2 separate regions of the Homo sapiens genome follow, and region 2 is linked to region 1. The links are contacts of gene promoters, found by promoter capture Hi-C in human tissues and cell types (Jung and others, 2019). All regions are on one chromosome and are shown on one strand. The core of a region is centred on a gene start or on the middle of the fragment in contact, and the rest is flanking DNA. Distances in the headings are between cores, read along the strand shown.

Region 1 (4,926 bases), core at 703-3,202:
TCAGCCCTGGAGCCTCCAGAAGGCATGCAGCCCTGCCCATTCCTTGCTTTTAGCCAGGTAAGATGTCTGTCAGCCTGATGAGAACTATGAAATAATGAATGTGCTTGTTTTTTTCACCACTAAATTTGTGCTTATTTGTTATAGCAGTGATAGAAAACTAAGACAAGGCTATATCTTGGCATGTCAGATTTTAAGTTATCTGCTATAGTGTAGAAAAGCCCAGAGAAGGAGCTGCAATTTGTCTCTTTGAAAAAAAAAAAAAAAAAAGGATCACCTTCTAGGGGATTAAACATTAATGGGCTGGGTGTTGTGGCTGACACCTGTAATCCTAGCACTTGGGGAGGCCGAGGCGCTGCTGCACTCCAGCCTGGGCAACATAGTGAGACCCTGTCTCCAGAAAAAAAAAAAAAAAAGAAAAAGAATTAAACGTTGACAGATTATTAAGTGAGGCACTGTGTGAGACCTAGCTTGGGTTTGCGCCTATAGATATTTAAAAGTTGATCCAGGTTTTCACTTGAAAGCAGAACTACTGCCTTAAATTCCCACTTCACAAAAATAAATCATGGATTGAGGGAAAAATTTACTTGTTTGCTTTATAAAAAGAGATATCGATCTCTTCATAAGTTATATATGTTTTACAAGGTTGCACTGTTTGAACTGTAAGTGTGAATGGTTGCTAACACTCCAGAAACCAAGAGGTACATTTTAACTGGAAAAATTTTCTTCCTGTATCTTACAAATTAATTGAAGTTTGTCTACGCTTGAAAATATGTCAAAAGTATTATGTAGCTTTACCACAGTTTTATCTAACTTCTAGAAGAATTTAAATTCATATAAAGATAAAGAGTAACATACCAATAGAGTTTAGAGAGTTTTCAGATTTGCTCAGAAGAATGCTCCTTTGAAAACCTATGAAGTAGATTTTACCCAATGTATATCTGGATCTAAAAATTAAAGAAAATATCAGTCGTGTTCAGATTCCTTTATACCCTGCAGAAGAGAGAAAGAATAAGCAACATCAATGGAGCATATAACATGTATGGTTTAGCACTTTCATATTTTTAATCTTAACTATTCAGCCAAATACGTCTTATTTTTTTATTTTTATAGATGAAGATATTGAGGTTTGCATTTTTTTTTTATAAATTGCTCAGTCATACAGTTGGTAAATAGCTGACAGGAGAGTTCACTCCAGGTCTTACTGGCTCTCAAACCTTTGCTTTTTAAAAATCTCCAAACTAGCGCCTCTCCCTTTTAACTGCAAAATAAGCACAAAGTTATCCCAGTTCTACACAGTGCTAAACAAATTCCTGTGAGCAAACAATTAGCACAGGCAGATGGAGTGAGGGGGAGGTGGTTTATAACAATGGAAAGCTGTCTGCCTGCTGTGGATTAAAGATTCAAACTCTTTGATCCTCCTCCCAGGGATAGGTGAGGGCCTATGTCTCCTCCTCATTAACATGAGTGATCCTTGGCTAGGTTCTCCTTTGACTGACAGAATATGGGAGAAAGTAAGGCTGAACCATATACTGGGCTCAGGCTTCCAACCCTGACATGTTCCACTTCCTGTCTCCAGGAACATTCACCCTGGGAGCTCTGTGCTGCCATGCAAATGTCACATTGCACTGAGGCCGCCATGCTGTAAAAAACCCCAAGCTACCTACCTGAAAAGCTGGAGAGAATCAGCACCCATCAGCTTTTCCAGCATTTTGGGTCCTCCCAGCTAAATCATCGGCATTGTGAAGCAGAGATGAGACCTCCTGCCATGCCCTTTCCAAATCCTGGACCAACAGAATCATCATATACACTAGTAAGCTTTTACTTTAAGCCACTAATTTGGGGTGTAGCTCTTTTGCAGCAAAAGATCATCAGAACACTGCCATGCAGGAGCTGATAAACTTGCTCACTGTTATGTATGTATCCAATGACTACTCACACACACATTACTTGCTTCACTCTACTTTCTGGCTTTCCATTCAGCAAATTTTAAGAAATGAAAATGTTATTCGTGGGAAATTAACTCAAGATCAATATTGTTGTAGTTAATCTCTTTGTAAATGGTAAAATATTAAATTATTGTGAGTCATTTTTATTTAAAGAAGTTTGGTTCTTTAAATGAAAGAAGTTTGGGTCTTTTGTGGATACTCTGCATATAGACATTCTAGACATGAAAGAATGTTGAAGACAAAGAATGTTGAAGAAATATAGACATGAAAGACTGTTGAAGTTTGGTTTTTTGTGGATACTCTGCATATAGACATTCTAGACTGGAGTGATACATCTTGTTCAGGTTTCTATGTTTTTAAAATGATAACTTGACACGCCTACCAATGCCAATTTTTAGGATATATATTTGTATATCTGTGTGAACTAAGGAAAATTCAGGAATGATTAAACCTACATATTTTGCCAGGAGAGACTGGATAATGTAAGTCTTTATATTTTTCACAACTTCAAGTTTATAGCATCCAAATGAGCAATTGCTGACATACCTAGGGGATTTCTCTGCAGGTTCAAGTCTGATCTGGCCTGAGGGCAACACTCTTACTGAGTGTGTTCCTAGGCACTCCTTGGCAGTTGGCTCCAGGCCACAATAAAGAGCCCTGATGATTCTCTGAGCAGGCCCAACTTCCATTCACATTCATGGGAATATGAGGATGACTTGTGATCTTCAGGACTTAGATAGACTCTTTCAGTTGGTGTAGGGTAAGCTCAGCTCATCTCTAGAGACTTCCCACAGTGGAGCTCATGCATGACTCTGTGCAGGTGGCACAGGACAGCCAGAGACAGGCACCTAAGGAGTGCACTACCAGCAGGTGGACTCTCCACTGAGGGAGGTAGACAAGGGAGAAAGCCAGGTGTCCACATGGAGCAGGCCTTACTCAGGGAGACTGAGATTTTGCTCTACACATCATAAAACGTGGAGGTCATTAATGGAATTTTTCACAGGACATGACTGCCATAGCCATGATAGGGTCCCTGGCTAATCTTTCAATTATGATAGCATCATAAGATAATTTTGAATATGAGGAGAGAAGAATAACTCTAGAACTGCAATATCCAATATGGTAACCCCTAGCAACCTAAGGCTACTTAAACTAATTAAAATTAAAACTTTAGTTCCTCAGTGCCACTAGCCATATTTCAAGTACTCAATAACCACACACACTTGGCTACCATGTTGGACAGCACTGACATAGACCATTTCCATTACTGCAGAAAGTCCTCCTATTTGACAGTCCACCTCTGGAACCAATCCGGAGTCTTTAGGGACCTAAAAGACTGAGGTGCTAAATCTCAGAGCAGTACTCTGCTTAATGCTTAGTTAAAAGACTTGCTAATCTATATAGTTGATCTAGAGAACTTTAAAGGCAGCTAGTTCGTAGCAACTATGTTGCTGGACCTTGAAACTGTATGTCAGGAACTTGGTGTTCTAGTGGTGACTTCTCTTTTATCTACCATGTTCACACTTTTCCTACCACTCATTTATCCATTCAGAAAGTATTTCAGAAGTCCCTATGATTTACCAGGTGCTATTTCAGACACTGAGGCACTGTGGGGAACAAAACAAACAAAGTCTCCTTTCTCAGGGATCTCACATTCCATGTGGTGATGCAGACTGTAAAAATTCACACACAGAAGATACTTTCATACAGTAGGAAGTTTTATGAAGAATATTTCAAAAGGGGTGTGGGGTGGGAGAGGTTGATGTTCAGGTGTTTGCTTGAGAATGAACTGTTCATACAAAGAATCAATAATTCATTTGTTCCACAAATATTTATTGAGTACCTGTTATTAGCAGGCTACTTTATTAGGTTGCCAGAGCAGGGTTTTCTTAGCACAATTAAAACACAATAACATTTGTTAGAAATTCAAAGACCCATGTCCACTCTTGCATAATGAATCAGAGTCTCGAGGTTATGGTCCAGAGACTGGTGTATTTAAAAATCACTGAAGTAATTTTAAGGTATAGCCAGAATAGAGAGGACACCGGCATTCTTCCTGAAACTCAACACACTAGACAATGAGAAATCATTAAAATGAAGTAAATATTTTGATTGAGATTGTTTTGGCTTCAAAATTAATAATAGCTTGGAGAGGAAAGAAGGTAAATTATAAAAGACAATTAAGAATCTCTTAAATGTATTTAGATAATAGTTACAGAGGGACAAAAATGAGTAGGATCTGTGATAACAGAAAGAATAAAAATAAACAAAAGGACTTAAAAAAGTAAGAATAAGAAAGAAGTCAACAGTAACCCAGAAATTTTCAACCTCATGTCTAAGAGAATGATGATGCTATTTAGCAATATATCCAAACCAAAAATACTACGAGAAGTAGGTTGTGTTCACTTGTGATGTTGTAAATTTATAATTACTTTTTCTTTATTTTGGATGCATGCTTTTCCTTTTTCTGAAGTTCTGAGACATACAAAAACAATAAAGAAAAACATGATTTTATGCCAGAAAATAAGATAGGAACAATTCCTCATGCTCAATATAATTTTAGCCTCCCACATAATCCAAAATATATGTGCAGCAAATTGTGGGAGTTTCGAAATTAGATCCAACTTCTTATTACAGTTAAAGATAAAAAGAAAACAAGGCTTTGTCTTTTTTAGGATCTTTTTTGGAACTTGCAGTATAAAAATACTCTTTCAAAAAACATAACTCAACATCAAAGTCCAATAAAACAGTAAACTGGACTAAATATATTCGTATATTAGCTTGACCTAAGTCTGGGAATTGAGCCAGACTTTTCAAATTATACTATCATTATTTACAGAAAAAGGAAATGTTAACTAACATTATTAAATAAAAGCACATATACACATGCATAACAGGAAACAAAATGAATGTTAATGTTAACAAATGTTGAAGATGTGTGTGTGTGTGTGTGTGTATGTGTGTGTATACAAAGCAGATA
Region 2 (4,926 bases), core at 953-3,452, 230 kb after region 1:
CCATTCAATAGCAGCTTCATTGTCTGGATGCAACACTTCAAAAAATGTATTCTTCATCTTAAGTCCCTCACTCTATTGGGAAAGATACTTGAGTAAGCACAGTTCCAGGGCAGTGATAGAATTGAGTGCACTGATACATGTGAGAGTAGAATGTTACCACAAAAACTAGGTGCTTATAAAACACAATTGGATAAGTAGACTAAAAAGAGACAGCAGAGGAGCTATTTCCTAAAGGAAGACAAGTAATAAAGCAAATTGTAAGTCAAGATGTAGAAGGTGAAATATTTTCTTCGTAGCAAAAGGATAATTATGCTGCAAGACATAGAGATGAGATTTTCTACTTATAATATGTCTCTAATACTCAAATGAAATAGATGACTTTATATGCCTGCCTTTCTATTTGGTAAACAAATTAGACAATCTGATACATTTCAGCCACCTTAATCCCTGGGGTAATTAGTGCAGCAGAAATCCAATCACATGATCTCAAACTCACATGATGTACCTTGTTGTAGAATATCTCCATAAAACTTTATCAACCAGTTCATATTTAAGTGAAGAAAACAATCATATTAAAAAGAAAGGCCGGGCGCAGTGGCTCACGCCTGTAATCCCAGCACTTTGGGAGGCTGAGGCGGGCGAATCACAAGGTCAGGAGATGGAGACCATCCTGGCTAACACGGCGAAACCCCGTCTCTACTAAAAATACAAAAAATTAGCCTGGCATGGTGGCAGGTCCCTGTAGTCCCAGCTACTCGGGAGGCTGAGGCAGGAGAATGGCATGAACCTGGGAGGGAGTGCTTGCAGTGGGCTGAGATTTTGCCACTGCACTCCAGCCTGGGCGACAGAGCACGAGACTCTGTCAAAAAAAGAAAAAAAAAAAAAACAGTGAAAAATACATATAAAATAAGGTAAATTCTTTCAATGGACAAAGAACAAAACAGAGGAACTCCCATATCTGTATTTTTGACAATTTAGAAATAAGTTAGTACTTTATACTTTCTTCATCCTTTCTCCACATAGAGAAAGAAGCATTTTGAAAAATTTAGTCACTGTATACCACCAAATCCTAGTAGAAAGACAAGTTTGGATTGCTTTGTCTTCACAGGTAATTCTGCACTTTGAAAAAGCTTGGAGTACCAGACTACGAATATGACATCAGGTACATCTCATTTTGAGTTAGAGGCCAGTAAACAATCCCATTTCCTTTACTGAACCATTTAGAACGAATGTAAATATTTTAACATAAAAAGAGTTGTGTTTAGCAAATATTCCCCAGATTTTTCTCATTGGAAGGAAATAAGCTGAATGGTATTTTTCAAGCGTATAGCAAAGAAATTTAGCTGTAGAATTTCTCACATAATGGCACAATCCTGATTGTAATGTTGTAGGGCAGTATCCCATAGAGTGTGAGACGACTCCTTTGACTGTCAACTCCTCTTTCCAACAAACACTGGGATGAGCATTGTGACCCTCAGCCCCTTGGCTCTAAACTGGAAGACAGCTTCCTGGAGCAGTACCCGGTCTTATGACCCTCAAGTTAGCCCCAGGTCCTCCTGCTCTGTCACATCCACATGGGTGTGCAGGAAACTCAGAAACCGCAGTCCCTTCCTGGTAACAAAAATACATCGGAACAAAAATATTTCTATCCAATTTCAATCCCATGAAAACTTATCTGCATAGGTCTCAGTGTTAACTTCATTTCTTCTTGTTCTCGAAGAGGTACGCTCGCCTCCTACTTAGGCCTTCTATTTTTCATCTGTAATCTACATCCTATCTTCTCCTGAGAACTTTGACATTTTGCTCCCACATCCTGTCACAACTGAATATTAAATCTCTCTTTCTCTATGCCATTGGTTTCTCACCCTCAGTAAGTAAAGGTACTCCCATCTCTACCATTTCTGCACCCGCAATGCTCTATGGAGGAAAGATAAATTTGCCTGCATGTCAGGTACATGTCAGGTGAAAATAAATGTCAATGCTCTAATACCTTGGACAAGAGCCCTTGTCAGAAGACTAGTGTTGCGAAGGACTAAATTTTTTGTCATCACCAACAAGTACCAGGCCCCATGCTGGATGCCTTATAAATAATTGGATTTGAGACTTATAATAATGTTGTGGAAGCTTTCTTCATGCCATTAAGGAAGCAGAGGCCTACAGAGATTTTGTAAAATATTTAAGGTCGCATAAGTATGAAATAATTGGGAAAGATTTTTGTCCAGTTGTTGGACATTTCCCAAAGCAGAAAACAGTGCCTAATATTATTTACATGTCTTCATGCACTCTTTTCTTCTCTTTCTTCTCTTGTTAACTCAGAAGCAGTAAAATCTTATTATATTTTTACACTTAAATAGACTTTAAAAAATATTCCCTGTAATAAAAGGGGAAATACATGAAAGGCACTTCTGCTTCATCTCCAATTCTGATGGTTGTCCTGGGATAATAGCATGTTCTTGAGTTACAAGCTGAACTAGCAGTTTTAATCACAGAGAACCATGTTTACTTGAAAGAATGCTTGACAGATAAATGATCTTTATAAGGGATTCAGTGTATGTCAGACGTATTTTCAAATTGAATAAAATGAGCATGTCACTTCAAGGATAACTAGAGTATCAACTATCAATTATAAAATTTCGGTTACCAATCAAAATTAGAATAAAAAAATTGTATTGGCCACCATGAACTTACTGGTTACCCAAAACTTAAAGAATTTTCAGTTAAGATTGTTGACATTAACCCGTGCTATTTTTTTTTCTATTGTATAAGGACATGTGTCAACATTGGAAGATTAGCCCTAAGTGAGTAAACCAATATTTTCAAAATGAATAGTGCACATTGATACAAAATTATGCACGCGTAAAGATCCATTCAAAATGAAAGCTAGATATTAAAAAACCAATGGATTTAATAGAAAAGGGTATAAAAAGTTTATAAAGTTTCGGATTCTACATAGCAACAAGCTTAAGATACTACCACTTAATGAGTTTAGGTATAGCATCCAAGAAGAATATCTTGAATTATCTGAAAAGACAAGTAAATATTCCTCTCTGCCAACTATATATCTGTATGAGGCCATATTTCCTTAATATACTTCACTCAGAACAACATATTGAAGCAGATTGAAAGCAGAAGTCAATATAAGAACCCAGCTGCCTTTTATGAAGCAAGACATTAAAGAGATGCAAAAATGTGAAACAATGTCACTCTTCTAAGTGAATTTTGTTTTTGAAAAAAGTTACTTTAAAATATATTATTTATATTAATACATAATGAGGATGCTCCTGTTTTAAAAGTTACTATTTTAAAAATTTACCACTTTTAATTATTAAACAATAAATATTGATTATATATCCCATAAAAACAAAAGCTCTTTGGAGTTTTCAATAAATTTTAATAATCTAAAGAGGTTCTGACTTCAAAATTTTGAGAATCCCTGAGTATTACTTTTCGAGGACTGCCATAAAAAATCACTACAAACTGGATGGCCTAAAACAACAGAAATTTAGGAGGCGAGAAATCTGAGTTCCAAATGTACTCTTTGAAGTTCAAGGGAGAATCTGCCCCATGTCTTTGTCTTGGCTTCTGCTGTTGCCAGCAATCCTTACCATTCTCTGGCTTGCAGTTTCTTAAATTCAGTCTCTGACGTCTTCCCTCTGTGTGTCTGTGCATCCACATGGCATTCTTCTCTCTCTCTCTGTCTCTCTCCCTCTCTCTCTCTCTCTCTCTCTCTGTGTGTGTGTGTGTGTGTGTGTGTCCCTGTCTCTTCTCTCAGGGACACCAGTCATATTGGGTTAATGGCCCAGCCCTTCTGCTGTTGCCAGCAATCCTTACCATTCTCTGGCTTGCAGTTTCTTAAATTCAGTCTCTGACGTCTTCCCTCTGTGGGTCTGTGTATCCACATGGCATTCTTCTCTCTCTCTCTGTCTCTCCCTCTCTCTCTCTCTCTCTGTGTGTATGTGTGTGTGCCCCTGTCTCTTCTCTCAGGGACACCAGTCATACTGGGTTAATGACCCAGCCTACTCCAGTATGACTTCATCTTAATTACATCTGCAAAGACTCTATTATCAGATAAGGTCACATTTATAGATACTAGGAATTAAGACTTCAACGCATCTTTTGCAGAGAAAAAAAAATCAACCCATAAATGCTATGTTTTATACAAAGCCCACTTACACTAGGACAAATTGACTTCAACCCCTTTTTTAACTTTACTTTTGCCGAGATTTGTTTGTAAACAAATACTTTCAAGATTATTTTGACTTGTTTATTTTCTACATATTTTCAGTGCTTGGTACATAGGTGGAAAACAATAAATGATTGCTCACTGAATGGACTAATGAATTAATTGATTAATGTTACAGTGTAAGATATCCTGGAGATGCTTTGGTTATTGCATTTTTCAGGATCACCTGAGACCTCATTTAAGAATTTTTTTTTCATTCATTCTCTGAAAGAGTTCCCTATTTGATTTCCTTTGGGTGAGGCAATGCGATAAATAGGATGAGCATAGAATTTAGAGATGGATTTACCTGCCTTATCATATGAAGCCTACCATTCACTTAGATATACAATTTTGAGCCTATTATTATTCATTCCTTAGCCTGACTCCTACTTCGTAAAAAATACAGGTAAAATCCCTGCCTACAGAAGTTTTGTAAGTATTAAATTAAATTTTATATATAAATGTTGTATATATGTATATACACAGTATATACATATAAAGTCTAGCGCAGAGTTTCAAATTTGGTTGCTTTGAAGAATCTACTATGAATTCTGTAAGTCTGGGCAGGAGCCCAGGCATCTGTATTTTTAAAAAGTCTTCGGATGATGATGGTGTGTAGATTGTTTTGAGAACCACTGGTGCCATGCATTAGCAACACAAAGAATATAAGGCTGGTTACAAACACTTGTGGAATAGATGCCAAT

The links. The method cuts DNA at HindIII sites, captures the fragments that hold promoters and counts their contacts. A contact is called where the count stands out against the background at its distance.
Region 2: a fragment that was not itself captured here is called in contact with the fragment with the promoter of DAOA in region 1 in 2 of the 25 tissues and cell types used here (dorsolateral prefrontal cortex and spleen).

Annotation. Positions count from the first base shown.
Region 1 is chr13:105,463,071-105,467,996 of GRCh38, reverse strand. DAOA (D-amino acid oxidase activator) reads right to left here and starts at 1,952. Exons shown (of 6, transcript NM_172370.5): 1 at 1,937-1,952; 2 at 1,665-1,781; 3 at 856-944. The coding sequence starts at 1,708. DAOA-AS1 (DAOA antisense RNA 1) reads left to right here. Exons shown (of 7, transcript NR_040247.1): 5 at 1,577-1,810. The HindIII fragment of the contact is 13,308 bases long and covers 531-4,926 here.
Region 2 is chr13:105,234,112-105,239,037 of GRCh38, reverse strand. No RefSeq gene overlaps it. Among named protein-coding and RNA genes, the nearest start is that of DAOA, 230 kb to the left of the region's middle. The HindIII fragment of the contact is 3,510 bases long and covers 448-3,957 here.